2 separate regions of the Homo sapiens genome follow, and region 2 is linked to region 1. The links are contacts of gene promoters, found by promoter capture Hi-C in blood cells and fetal thymus (Javierre and others, 2016). All regions are on one chromosome and are shown on one strand. The core of a region is centred on a gene start or on the middle of the fragment in contact, and the rest is flanking DNA. Distances in the headings are between cores, read along the strand shown.

Region 1 (7,535 bases), core at 2,327-4,826:
TAGTTGCAAAAATGAGATGTATCAACACCAGTAAAGAAATACAGCCATCTTCTACAACTTTAAGATTATTAAATTTTCTCCCCCCTCCCCAAAAAGTAACAATTTTCAAATGATTACCAGTAAAAGGAAGGAGGTGAGAGAAGAGTTGGGACTTGCCTATCGTTTCATGATGTCCTTTTGATCAAGAATAATACTAGTCTTTACCCTACTTAAAATCCAAAAAATGCCTTCATTTCACTTACTTAAGATGATTAAGGACATGCTATACTTTCCCCATAAGCTCTAATTTCATAATTAAAAATGAATTTTAATAAATTAGTATACAATTTTTAAAAACAAACTTTTTAGAATGTAAAGTGGTATAAAGTGTTTAGGTGGTTATGAAATTAACCTTATTTTCTGATGTTTTATTCTCACAGTATTTTAAGAAACCAACTATCATTTTACCAGGGGAAATAAAAAGCACCCATCAAAGAGGCATTACTGAGTTTCAGCCCAGAGATTTGACAGTTGGTTTTCTTAAGATGATGCTGTCATGGCTTTAGTTATTTTTTTCATCTCTTAAGCACAAAGAAATAAATTTAAATTAAATAAAAAGTTACAGCTTTTGCACACTGGAATGGACCTTCCTTCTAAAATATTTTTAAATTATGAGTTTTTAAAAGTTAAAAAAAGAAAAAATGCATACTTAAGAAAAATGGGATGTTTTAAAATGGAGCACAGTAGTCATAAATGTATTGAAAGTAAATTTAAAGACAAGATCACTAGTGTGTAGATCTACTTTAACTTACTCTAAACATTATCATAATGTAATCTGGATATAGGAAAGGATTCAGTCATCTAATACTTATCATTTAAAAATAAATCTAAGTTTCTATTCATTTTGAAAATTTACCCCACTAACATTTTAAATAATTGTAAACGAAACTACTGATTTCCTACAGATTTCTGAGGGAACTGTCATCTTTTAAAATTAATAAATCTTACTAATTATCACTTGACTCAATTCCATCTTTTATATACATATATTCAATAATATTTAAATGTTATGCTTTCTATTTTTCTACTAAAATGTATCACACCACCAAAATATGAGTCTTTAGTTTAAGACATCATCTTACCTGATCCACTGAATTGACTGCTTCCCAGTGTAGTTGGTCTAGTTTTCCCACTATTAACAGGTGGGGAAAACATCTGCAAAATAACCCAAATATATCTGTTAGTCCTGAAATTCTTCTAGATTCCTTGCAAACAAAAGTCCACCAAAAGTCATCCATCAGTTATTAAATTTCAGAGGGAAGTTAAAATAAAATTGGAGATACATTCAGATCCAGAGAGGCAAATACACTGAATGATACTATTTCCTAATTAATTGGAAATAATGGTTACATTTTGTTCTGAAGACCCGATCATTTACATGGAAGAGTCCAAGATTATTAAGTTTAAACAGTATAGTATTACACATGATCTTTACTGCAGAACTAAGTGAATTTCATTACATTTACATTATATCTCAATATACACAGTCAGAATTATGGCCCATTAAATTACTACATACAGTAAGGATTATAACTGAATTGTATAAAGCAGGTATAGGTGCTGCCTCCTAACAGCAGTTAATAAAGGAATTAAACCCATTAAAAATAAAAGCAGTGGGCCCTTAGGTTTCAGTTGATGTTTTTAAGTCATTTCCCATGTTAAGAACATAATACACACACACACACACACACACGTGTGTGTGTGTATAAAATAAAAGTACTCTGTTTCAGAAGGCTCGAAATTCTAGCTCTGGACTACTTTTCTTGTCGCTGACATCTTTCAGGTACCATAAACTACATCTGATACTGGAGAGGAAAATGGTGAGGAGTACTGAAGAAAAAAACAACACTTTTTCATATAAAGTACAAGATCCCCAATAATCATCGCGGTGGGAGGGTGACTCAACCAAAGGTCATAATTACATTGTTCTCCTTTTAACTGGTTAAATCAAATGACCCCTCTGGCATTAAAGTTTTAAATGTGCAAGTCTAGACATTACATCAAAGTTCAGGTGTCCAACTTGGGGGAGCTGGACTCCAGCCCTGAGAACTACTGCTTAAGCAGAAAGCAGATGGAGTTCACGCTGCCTAGTCTCCACGTTGCTTCCCCTCACCCTTTATTTAAAAGAAACAAACAAACAAACAAACAAAAACCTCAGCAGAACCCCAAGATGCCATGGAAAGCTCTCATACCGCACTGAAGTCCAGTAGGTCGCTCAGCTCCTTGTCGGTCCCTATAGCGGCCATGCGTTGTTGCTGGGGATTCATCTTCGGCCACTTCTAGCAGGTCCTAGGGCAGAGGAAACGGGCTCAGCGAGAGACCACCGAGGCCCAAAGTGTGTGAGGGAACAGAGAGAGGTACTGGGGAAGATTACGCAAGAGCGCTGGGGGCGCCGGGATGACTTCCAGGACCCCGACTCGCTCCCACCGCGGCGCGAGCAAGGGGCGGGAGGGCTCAGTGCCCGCGCCGGGTCCCGGAATCCACGCGTTCCTCGCCGCGGCCCGAGATCGACGCGGCGGCTCCCGCAACTCGCCGCCTCTCCCCCAAGTTTCCGAGCCAGTCTCTGCCACCTCCTCGGCGCCCCCTGCTCCGCGCCGCCGCCGGGTGCTCCGCGCGCCGGGCCCGGCCGCGGCTGGGGTCTCGAGGAGCGGGGTGAGGGGCAATTCGGCGTCCAGCGAGCGGAGCGGCGGCGAGCGGAGATGCGAAGTGACTCACTCGCTCGGCAACAATAGAACTGACAAGTTGCAGGGAACGCGCCGCTCGCAGGCCCGCGTCTGCGGCCGCCGCCGCCCGGACGTCCCCGGCGGGCCCAGGAGGTCGGAAAGCACCCCCAGCTCATCCAAGGGGCGTTTTTAAACAGAAAACAGAAACCCCGACAACTAGTCTCGCTCTCGGCCGGCGTCCTCCTCCCCAGGCTCGGCCTCCTCCCACTTTTGCTGCCCTGCCCCGGACCTGCCGAACAATGAGCCTGGCTCCGCGGCCGAAGCCGCCCGATCTCCCGCGCGCCCCGGAGCCTGGGCGCCGGCCCGAGTCGGGCACCGAACGGGGCGCACAGGCCGAGCGCGCCGCCAGCGGGCCTGAGCGCCCGCGACTCGAGCCTCCGCCCCCACTCCGCTCCCCAACTTGGAGGGGACCCCGGGTTTCGCGCTGTACAAAGGGGCGCGGAGTTGAGGCGGGGGACGGGGGCGCCCCCACTCCGGCAGGGACGCGGCGGCGCCCCGCAGCCCCCAGCCCCGCCGCGCCGCCCCACTCCCGCTCGCTAGCCCGCAATTACCTGCCGCCCCGTCTCCGCATCCAACCACCCCGATTAAAGTTCACTTTGGCCGGGAGAACGGGCTTGGGCTTCCCCTTGCACCGCCCAGCGGCTCGGTTCACTTTGCCCCGCACGAGCTCTCGGGTCTGGGAGGGGGAGGCGGCTTTCGGGCCTGGCCGCCCCTTCCTCCCGGGGCGGGCTGTCGGTCCCCCCGAATAGAACTTGTGGGTCTCTTCAGGCGGACATTTTTTTCGCTGAGGCGGCCTCACCACCGCGCTCGGCTCGCCTCCGGATCCCTCCGCGCCGGGAAGAGCCGCGGGTTAACCCTTCCCTCCCCGACCCGCTCCGCCGCCTAGGAAGTGGGGCCGGCAGAGGGGGCGGGGAGGAGCTGTCGGGGACTGGGAGGAGCCGCACCGCGGCGGGTGGACAAAGCCCGCGGTCGGGTGAGGCGGGACGGAGTTGGGGCCGGTGGGGAGGGGCATGAGGCGCTCGCAGGCACCTCGAGAAGCAGGCCCCGACCGCTCGCCGACGAAGCCTCGTCCGGGCCTCCTGGGAGCGGGGTGGCAGGTACCGTGGCGCCTCCTCGCGTTGGTCTTGCTGGTTCTCGGCCCCCGAAGCGGAGCGACGGAGACACAGCTGTGGAAGCATCTGGATCCGCTGCCCAGGTCCCCGAGCTTCCCGGAACCCGAGGCCGCAGGACACTGAAGGCTGCCATTCCCGAGTAGGTCACGCTGGACGCCACCCTAAGCTGGGCCCAGAGGCTCCCGTCCAGGAGGGCTGCAGTCGGCGCAGACACCGCGCGTGTGGAGACGGGAGACCCATCCTCCTCGGCCGTTCCGAGAGTAGGCGCGGCCGGTCAGATTCGATGCAGAGCCGAATGCGGGAGAAAGGGCAAAACGTACCTCAAACCAGACAAAGCCTTGTGAGCTTCAGGTTCTCAAATACCCCACTCACCCAGACCCCACATCTCCAGTCAGCCCCTCGCACCCAAATCCCATTCGGAGCAACCGAACTGCACGTGGGACTAGTTCTTGGGAATGGATCAAGCCAGTCTCTTCATCTAACGGAGACAGCCCTGGGTGGCTCTGTCACACAGCCACTGTCTTGTGCACAAGTTCTGAACTTGGCCTCAGAGAAGCCCCAGAGTAGAAAGAAGACAAAATAAGCCCCAGTTCTTCGATTCTGGGCTGAAGTGAGATTTTCTTGAATGGCAGCCATTGTTTTGCCTCTTAGGTAAGTGAGTGCAGTAAAGACCGGTAAGGCCCACGCAGAAGAAACACTGAGGAAAGAAGACACTTCCAAAGTAACAAATGGGAGGAAGCAGCCAACGCCCGAGGACAACATGGCAAGAAGGAGCCTTTGGATTCCGGACTGGGATGGAAAGAGAGGTAGATTCAGCTACCATATGCCATTACTGTAGTTAGTACAGTTGTCTCTATATCCGTGGGATTGGTTCCCAGACTCTGGATTTTCTAAGATGTTCAAGTCTCTTACATAAAAATGGTGTGTTTCCCCATATACTTTAAATCATATCTAGATTACTTATAAAACCTAATACAATGCAAATGCTATGTGAATAGTTGTTAAGGTGTATTTAGGAAATAATCATCCAAAGAAATCTCTATATTTTCAGTACATTTTCAGGCTATATTTTAGGCTCTATATTTTCATGTATTTTCAGGCCTGGTAAGCCTAACTACATTTTTTGTTTTCAGTTGATTGAATCCCGGAATTTGGAAACCCCAGATACGGAGGGCGGACGGTACAACCGGAGCTGTCAGGTGGATTTCCAAGGCTTTGCATTGGCTGTACCTGAAACTTATGGTGGCCTAGACTCCCCAGTATCCACTCTTCCTTATCTTGGTAAACAAGCCCAGTTCTGAGTCACATCCCTGCTCTGCCTACTTACAGGGGCATGTGGTCCCAATCTAAGCAACGTAGCATAATTCCAACCTAAATCAGCAGAATCCCATTCCCTGCCACAGTTATTGGCTGGCAATGAGCGTAACATATTTGGGCCAATGAGAGGAGCAATTTCCTGGTCTTTGTTGGGAAAAGTTTTTCTTTCATTTTCTGAGAGCGCTTCAGAGGTAACCCATTCTTTCTGCATGTCCTCAAAAAAACGGGTCCCCTGGATGGTGGGTAGCCATCTTCCAAATACAAGTCTAGCCGGGTTAAAATAAAGAAGACATCAAGAAAACAAACATGCATAGAGATCTGATCTTTGGTGACTTTTTTTTTTTTTTTTTTTGAGATGTAGTCTGGCTCTGTCACCAGGCTGGAGTGTGGTGGCAGGATCTCGGCTCACTGCAACCTCCGCCTCCCAGGTTCAAGCGATTCTCCTGCCTCAGCCTCCCAAATAGCAGGGATTACAGGTGCGCGCCACCATGCCCAACTAATTTTTTATTTTTTTAGTAGAGTCGTGGTTTCACCATGTTGGCCAGGCTGGTCTGGAATTCCTGACCTCAAGTGATCTGCCCTCCTCAGGCTCCCAAAGGGCTGGGATTACAGGCGTGAGCCACCGTGCCTGGCTTTGGTGACATTTTTGAGGCTCTGAATCAAGCAACTTCTGAATTCAGGTCTATCTTCACTGATTAGACCAATAGGATTCGAATTTTCTGTTGTCTGTAATCTAGTGTGGTCTACACAGTACCACCCCAATGACCATTTTTTTAGTAGCAAAGACATAAACGTCAGGTAGGAAGTCTGATTAGATCATTTTTAAGGCCCCATTCCCATGTGTTTTAGTTCATTTTCTCCTACTGCTAACAGAATACCATAGACTGAGTGATTTATAAAGAAGTTTATTTGGCTCATGGTTCTGGAGCCCGGTAAGTCCAAGAGCATGGCACTGGCATCTTTAGAGGGCCTTCTTGCCGTGTTATCCCGTGGCAAGTGAGCACACACAATAGAGAGTAATCCATTCATGAGGGCTCTACCCTCTTAGAAGTTTCTCTTAAAGGTCTCACTTCTCAACACTTTTGCATTGGGGGTTAAGTTGTCAACACATGAACTTTGGGAGACACATTGAAACCATAGCACTGTGATAAGATTCTATGACTCCACAGTAAAACTGGAAAGAAATCTTGCAGAAGGAGAAGGTATGTGATCCCACATGTTGGATTCATGCTGTTTTCAAGATTCTCTTCTCATCCTGCTCACACAACTAGTGCAGAGGAAGAATATCTGTCTGCCCAAACCTTCAGTCATAGGGGCTCCCTCATTACTTAGGGACTGATTGGTGAAGTTTTTCATATCTATTATGGCCCGTATAGTTTTACTTTATAATTTATTTTCCTTATTAGATTGTGAACCCCTTGAGGGTTCGGACTGACATGCATCTGTCAGTACCATGCACCTAACGTAGTGCCAAGAGCATAGTAGACCCAAAAAGGAGGAGCTGGAATTAAAGCTATCATTCATTTGACATTATAACATGAAGTTATTTTTCATAATATAGCCTTTGCTTGTGTCATTTTTAATAAGAGAAAATGATTCCCACCAGTGAATCTCCTATAATAGCTCTGACTTATATAGAAGACAAAAAGAATATAAAAAGTGGAGTTTTGTATCACTTATAACTCATTTCTGGGCCTTTGCTGACACATCTAGATAGGGCCAGAAGCCTTTATTGAAAAGCTCAGAGAGAAACAACTAAGTAATACAAATTCAGTGTTAATTAATAGTACTATTTGTGTAGTATAAGTTAATCCCTATCGATAAGTTAATATTGAAAAGTATTTAATGTGCATTTCTCACATGCCGGGCATGGTGTTAAATGTTTCAGGACAGAAAGTCTAAAACCCATACTGCCCTCAAGAAAGTTATAATCTAATAGATTTTTTTTTTTGAGACAGAGTCTCACTCTATTGCTCAGATTAAAGTGCTGTGGCACAATCTCAGCTCACTGCACGTTTGCCTCCTGGGATTAGGTGATCCTCCCACCTCAGCCTCTGAAATACCTGAGACTACAGGTGCATGCCACCACGCCTGGCTAATTTTTAAATTTTTCTTCATAGAGACAAGGTATCACTATATAGCCCAGGCTGGTCTCAAACTCCTGTGCTCAAGTGCTCCTCTCACCTCAAGCCTCCCAAAGTGCTGGGATTATAGGCATGAGCCACGATGCCCAGCAATCTAATAGAGCTTAGTTCACTGTCCATTCACTGTAATCCACTACTGGACAGACACAGGAATTCTGTCAACATGGTTTCAGCCTCCCCACACACACAACACACACACT
Region 2 (7,535 bases), core at 2,289-4,788, 170 kb before region 1:
ATTACCCTATCAGAAAGGTAAAGGTATTTTCAGAATCTGGATTAAAATCCACACCTCCTAACTCTCAGCCCTGCAATTTCCCCCTGTACCACCACATATTACATTCACTCTTTAAAAGAAAAATTGTTAACAAACCATCTCTAGAGGCAAAATAGTGTCTCAGAAAGGAACACAATTAAGGGTCTCAAAAAACAAGCAAAACCGAAGATAATTTTACACCTTAAGTCTCCCATTTATCACATATACACATACATACATCCTAAAATAAGTAAAGCTTATAAACATGGAGGGATTAAAAAGATAATAGTAGTTTATTACACAATCACTTGGGGATGGAAGCCAGGCAATTCTGTGAGAATAATTTGTTTCTAAGTTCAACCAGTAAACTGATCCTCCCATCATCAAAAATATGACTAATTATCAAAAGGTAAAGGAAAACAAGTATTACTGAAATTAATGAGAGGATCAAGGGTGGAGAAATGGACCAGAGCTGGAAGAAGCTTGAGACAGACAAGGCTACTTGGTGATTGATAGTAGCCTTGAATGACCATGGGATTCACTGCTACGGTCAAAGCTTTTCATACAGTTTTAATATTTCAGAGTACAGAACTGCTTGATGCTAATTACCTAGTGATGTGCCAAAAAGATGTACTTATTTCACTCGAAACATAAGAAAAGCCCTCTTTCCCATATTGACATATCCACAGGAGATTTCTGCAATTCATAAAAGAAACATTAACTGATTCAGCATAAAACACTTCAAAATATATACATGAATATATAAACACACTTTCTGTTGCAAATTGTTCATTACTGAATCATTATCAACCCTTGTTAGACAAAATTTCTCATTTTTGCAATGTACAAAATCATTAAAGTATTTGAAAGCTCTATCACAGAAGACAGTGGTGCTTTATAATCCACTGTTTCTTCAGGCAAATGTGCTTATGGCTGAACATAATACTCAAAATAACAACATTCCCTAGATGTACAATCCCTCCCCCACTTAATGGTGTTTTTATATGTTGACAGCAACAGGAAATGTTACTGCTTTCCTATTAGTTTTAGCTGTTTCTGAACATTCATCATGCACAGCACCACTCTCAACTGTTACCTGTTGCGATGATTGGTTATCAACAGTTCCAAATGCTTCAAATACTACCATACACATCTCAGCAGAGCTTTAATAATTTAGGTTTTTCAGCCAGAAACTCCCTTAAATTAACAAACGGCCAGAAAAGTCAGTCTATCCACTGTAACTATATATTGCTATAAACCCACGTTTGGGTGTCAGTTCAATTACTTCAGCTCATATCAAGTTGAATTGCCTGTTGCTGTATAGAACTGCATTGTGATTTAAGAGGCATTCATTTCCAAAAGCAAGCTATTGTCGTGCAGATTGTTTACACTAAGGTACCTCATTTGATCATTTTTACTAAAAATAAAGGTAAGGAAGTGAAGTATATCAGATATTGCCAATGACCAGTGAATTTCTTTTGAACCTATCTACTTAATCATTTCAGGGTTCTGTCTCCTTCTTTTATGTATAAGTAAACATTTTTACATTAGGTAGTTAAAACTCACAAATAAAACGTATGGTCTGGGCCAGACATGGTGGCTCATGCCTATAATTGCAACATTTTGGGAGGCTGGGGCAGAAGGATCACTTGAGGCCAGGAGCTCAAAACCAGTCTGGTCAACATAGTGAGACCTCATCTCTACAAAACTAAAAATTAAAAAATTAGCTGGTGTTGTGCTAAGGAAGGAGGACAGCTTGAGCTCAGGAGTTCAAGGCTGTAGTGAGTCATCATCATGCGACCGCACTCTAGCTTGGGTGACAAAGTGAGACCCTGTCTCAAAAATAAGAAAAGAAAATGTATGGTTTGTATATCTGCATCTGATACAAAGTAGTACCTAAACAACGTAGTTCACATGAATGCAGATTTTTTTCATTTGAATTAAGAGATCAATCTACTTACAAATATTTATTTACTTCAAGACTTTTTTTAGATGTTGATTTTATACATAGGGTATGGATGACTATTGAACGTATTCTAATAATTATCTGAAAACTAAAGAAACCAACAAGCACATGCTCGTAATTGCTCCAACTGAGAAAATGTTACCTCAAAGTGAATTACAGATATATTGTTAGTCAACATCTGCTCAGAGCAACTGACTGACATGCATACCTCTTAGGATTCATTTAATTTCCACACTTGTCCCGTACAAAATTTTAATCGTCACCTTGGTACAAAGCTGTACTAATGATGAAATTCCATTGGGCCTAAAAGTCATCTCTATGAGTGAAGAATAAAGGTAAGAACATAAATACAAAAAGAGCAATTTCTGATTTTTCACAGTTCAGAGTTATATTCTCAATTAAGAAAGCTTAGTTTAATCCAAAATTACAAAAACACGGACTTTTACTTGCCCTACTACACTTAATATAAATTAAATCCTACTTGGGGAAAAGTTGTACTCCGAAAGGAAATAATTTGGAGTGTTATATCGATTTTACTTTGATGGCAAGCTCAATTGAAAATTTAAAAAATAAATTAGAAAGTTTTCCCTAGCCAAATAATTTATTGTAAACCTAACTCTGATTTTTTTATCTGGAATGATAATACATATAATACCATGATTTTCTATGTGCATTTATTTACGCTGAAACAAATTGTGATTTTAAACACAAGTTTTATTGCTTGTGTCAGTTTTTTCACTCTTCTGTCATACTCTAATGGTTCTTCTGGCTTCAAACTGTCAACCGCCTTCGGCAAAATCCACACTAGACTATCAGATTCTGTCTCCTCGACACTATAGAGAATAAGGGAAACAAAGACTGTGCAAAGCAAATCATTTTAAATAAATTGCAGACCACCAGGATTTGGGATTTGGGTAATCTACTCAGATTAGTATGGCTGTGTCTTAAAAGGACGATTCTAAGATCACAATATAGGTCATGTCCTTAAGAAATAAAGTAAGTAATGAAATCAATGTCAATTACACAAACTTTCCATATTTATATGATGCCATAACTGGTAAAAACAGTTATAACTGGTAAAACAGATAAAAGTTTTTGTAATATTTTCAGCCCCAGCATAAGCAAGAAAAAAAATCATAAAACATACAGATTATTTTCAATCAGGTTTTGCAAAAGGGTAAAATATTTACACAAAAAAAAATGGTATTCAAACTGAAAAAAACAAGCTTGGGTTTATAATTTTAGACTGAACAACTTTAAACTTTCATTTGAGACAGAGAAGGAGAAAGGAAAGGAGGGGTGTTTTGCAGAGCATGATTAACCACAAAGGTTTTGCCTAAACATAAAAATCAAGTTTAGATGGTAGTGCATACCCTTCTTGAAAGTGCAACTTCACTTCTTCAAACCAAAACTTCAAAAAAGTCCTAGTATGAAGCCAAGTGCTTAAAACAATGCTGCAATATCTAAATATACTATGTTTTAATCAAATTGTGCCAGGAGAAATATTGTCCAATGCAAGTAAAGTCTGCCTAAAATCACTGCTATGTCACATTTTTAATTACAACATAATACAACTGTTAAGAGAAATAGTAACATCACAAATGCCCCTAAAACAATACTTCTCTGCCCCAGAAAACATGTAATGCTTGAGGTCACAAAGACATTGCCAAAACTGACAATCAAAACACTGCCACTTCTTTTTTTGACACCAAAACAATAATGCTTTAAGAGTAGACCCCAAATTTTCTGGACATTTGATCCTCAAGCTGTGCTGAACAAGAAAAGCCCTAGATGCCCCTAGAAACTCAAGAACTTTCTTCTAGATACTTACCTGTCCCTCCTGGACAAAGGGATAAAAAATGTCTCTGACCAAAGAAGCTTTGAGAAGACTACTTGCAGAGAATTACCAACTTACCCATCAGATTTGAGTTCATGAAAGGTGTTGGGGACAAGCCTTCATGGGCTCCTAATCGACTGTCATTCAAGTGATCACTGTAATGAGGGCTGTCTGTAAAACCCTAGGGGGAGAAAAAGATCAGAGTATTAAAGAGATTATTTGGCAGTCCCGCTAATTGAGCATAATGACACTCACCTAATTAATATACAGACTTACACATGGTCATTTCTGACCAAGTTTCTTGTTCATTATTTGAAAAGCTAACAGCAGAAGTGCTTCTTTTATTCCTTTTAAGATTTTAAGTCAAAAAACATTTTCTTTATTGATCGTAAAGAAAAGTGGGTTTCTATAAATAAACACTAACCATGAGCACGAATGTTTTCAAAGTATCATCAGCTCTTCTGATGGGATGGGGAGCTATAAGAATTCTGTAAACTATTACTAAAATTACCTCTAAGATTACTTTACATCCAAAGGGAAAGTACAATGGATTTTTTAAAATAAATTAAGAAAATATATTTCTCAGTTGTAATAAATTAGGGAAATGCTTATCTTTATCCTCCTATTCACTCCCTGCCCCCAGACCCTAAAAATAAAGCGTTAGGCAATTACAAGTGACTTAAAATACTAAAACTAATTCACAATCAATATGCTAGAAATGAATCCTTTCCTAAATGGCAAATATTCAACAAAAAAGGTCTGTTTATACTCATTTTAATACTACTGTAGTAGAACAATATATACTCCTACAGAAACTGAGCCATGTAAAAAGTAAAACAATTATTAAACATAGCTGATTTAAATTCTTAAGAATGAAATTACAAACACCATTAAAAACAATAAAGCTAATGTTACTTTTCACAGTAGCTGTTATTACATTTCTCCTTATAGTTTAAAACATATTTTTTTAAAGCAAAGGGGAAAAAAGATAAAGTTTACAAACAAAAACAAGTGTTACAAAATTACTACGTGATGAAACCTGTCCTGGTTCTCAGACTTTTACGCACTCTTTAAGTACAGCATTACCTCCAAAATCATATTGTTTCTAAACAAGGCTTTGAACTCTATTAATTAAAACTGCAGGTCATATATATCTCTGCCAATCTAAAACCAACATGGTAAAGACCGGAAAAACGTATACGAAGCCCAAGTAAGAGAAAAAACTACCCTGGCTCACAGAAACCTGAAACCACCCAGAATCCCCGGGGACTAAAAAAATCATCAATCACTGAACATTTATCATTCCCCAGACTGCAGGCTACCATTTAAGAGGACATTAATGTGGCTGAAACAGGCCTCACTATCTTTGCAGGCATGCTGTCAGTTCAATGAAAGGGCTAGGAATAGAGGGCTAAATAACTGTCAAATCATTACAATTGTTTATAGATGCATGTCACAACTCCTTCTGCTGTTCTGTTTTAACACTAATCTTCTGGAGTGCTAACTCCCAAATAAATCTTTGTTTCATTTTTACATACTTCAGAATTACTGATAGACATGTGATAGATATTCAAGAAGAATCTGGGTGCCATTCACAACTTATGACCACAAGTGTTCTCTGGTAACTATAACCATAAGTCCTGTCTGATACAGCCACATTTAGTAGACCCTATATACACAATAGTATGGCTCTTAGCTAACGTCACTCCACAGAGCTTACCATTTTTTTGTTTTTGTTTTTGTTTTTGTTTTGGAGACAGGGCCCTCGCTCTGTTGCCCAGGCTGGAGTGCAGTGGCGTGATCACTGCTGACTAGCCTCAACCTCCCAGGCTCAAGTGATCCTCCCACCTCAGGCTCCCAGGAGTAGCTGGAACTACAGTAGTGCACCACCACACCCAATCAATTTTTAAAATTTTTTGAAGAGATGGGGTCTCACTATGTTGCCCAGGTTGGTCTCAAACTCGTGGGCTCAAGAGACCCTCCAGCCTTGGCCTCCCAAAGCGCTGGAATTACAGGCCTGAGCCACCATGCCTGGCCCATAGAATTTGCTTTTACTACTTAAAATGAATACTAAGGGACAAATCACTATCTCACGTACATCTGGGTGTTCTCTCTGCCACCCTTCCCACTGCCATTCTTAGGCACACAGTCAAAGGAAGGCATCAAAACCTATAAAAATACTCACTTAAATATTGTTTGTCATCCTACAGCAATACTACTGTAGAAAAATGCCAATTAAAATGTGCTTGCGGAACAGCTACATTGTTCACGCTACACATTTGAATGCTAAAGGCAAATGAAAGAGCAATTTTGTATCCTCCCAGTTCTCTTCATTCTTGAACAACAAAAAGTAAAAACACTACAGTTAAAAAAAAAAAAAAAAAACTATTTCCTAAAGCACCACTATACAAATATATCTAAGTTTGAAATGTATTTATGGTGTTGCTAAATGACTACACACAATTTATTAACTTTATAGATTAGATTACATGTAGTGTCTTTTACCCTGCTAACCTAACTTTTTTGCTGTTCCCACTGCTAATGACTGGGATTTTCACAGTGCACCAGAAAATAGGAGCCTATAGACTTTTTTCCTCAAATACAAGCAAGAGTTGGATATGAATCCTCAATACCTATTTACTGAGATTATATGCATATACTATTAATCCACATATCAAGTATCAGTAAGGCACAATTTCTCTGATTTAAGGATGAAAATTAGATATTTTCCCCAACACCTTAGAGGTTCAATTTAGCAAATGGAACTTTGTTTAAAAGCCACTGTCCAAGAGACAAGAAAGGAATAATAGTTCTTCATCTACAGGTGCAAACTGATGCTGGGAGAAGGGACAAATAGAGTTGCAAAATGTTTGTCACAGTTTTACATCGCATACAACTGTACACCAAAACTTCACTTCAAGGACTGGGGGTAGCTACTGTTTGGGATTATTCCTGTCATTCCTTTCACACAGTAGTAGTAATACCCACCCATAGTATAACTTTTGGTGAAACAAGATGAATAGTTATGAAATAATTCACAAATATTTAAATACGATTATCACAAGTCATATGTTTAAAATCAGTTGTAGAAATGTACAACTATTAGCACGTCAATGTATCATCTAGTTGACCGATACCTACAGCAATGCTTTGTAGACTTCAATGTTCTTATCAAACGAGTAGAGATCTTGCTAAAATGCAGATTAAGATGCATAAGGTCTTGGGGGTAGAACTTAAGATTCTGAATTTCTAACAAATAGGTGATGCTGATGCTGCTGGCTTATCAACTACACTACTAGTAGCAAGAACTTACACAACTTGGAATAAAGATCTTTTTCATAAACACAGAGTAAAAAGGTCTAGAAAGGTGACAGCCAGGCACCCCCCACTGAAACCATATTAAAACACCAGAAATTTCCAGATAAGAATAAATTAGGGAGAAACCCCACAGTTTAAAGAAAAAAAAAAAAAAACTAAAGCAATTAGAATAGCAAAATATTTTTATGTATGTATGTAATCATCCATGTAGTTTTAAAAGTAGAAGGTAGCTTAGCTGTCAAATATAGCCCCAATGAAAGAAATAGGTTAGTTGACTAGGAGTTTAAACTTCTTCTGAAATACCACATAGAGTTAGGCAACAAGCATGGCTGCTCATAGAGCAAAAGGGGAAAATGTCATAAACCAGAGCACTCACGGGGCTGACAGAATAGCAGA

The links. The method cuts DNA at HindIII sites, captures the fragments that hold promoters and counts their contacts. A CHiCAGO score of 5 or more calls a contact.
Region 2: a fragment that was not itself captured here is called in contact with the fragment with the promoter of TCF12 in region 1 in 7 of 17 cell types (fetal thymus, megakaryocytes, M1 macrophages and 4 more); the score reaches 6.9 in fetal thymus.

Annotation. Positions count from the first base shown.
Region 1 is chr15:56,914,685-56,922,219 of GRCh38, reverse strand. TCF12 (transcription factor 12) reads right to left here and starts at 3,576. Exons shown (of 21, transcript NM_207037.2): 1 at 3,314-3,576; 2 at 2,232-2,328; 3 at 1,122-1,194. The coding sequence starts at 2,306. It overlaps TCF12-DT (TCF12 divergent transcript), which reads left to right and starts at 3,721. Exons shown (of 4, transcript NR_015419.2): 1 at 3,721-4,680; 2 at 5,008-5,155. RefSeq lists silencers at 2,537-2,976, 3,027-3,316, 3,407-3,456, 3,627-3,756, 4,277-4,416. The HindIII fragment of the contact is 11,533 bases long and covers 1-7,535 here.
Region 2 is chr15:57,088,256-57,095,790 of GRCh38, reverse strand. TCF12 (transcription factor 12) reads right to left here. Exons shown (of 21, transcript NM_207037.2): 5 at 3,900-4,002. Among named protein-coding and RNA genes, the nearest start is that of TCF12, 170 kb to the right of the region's middle. The HindIII fragment of the contact is 652 bases long and covers 3,213-3,864 here.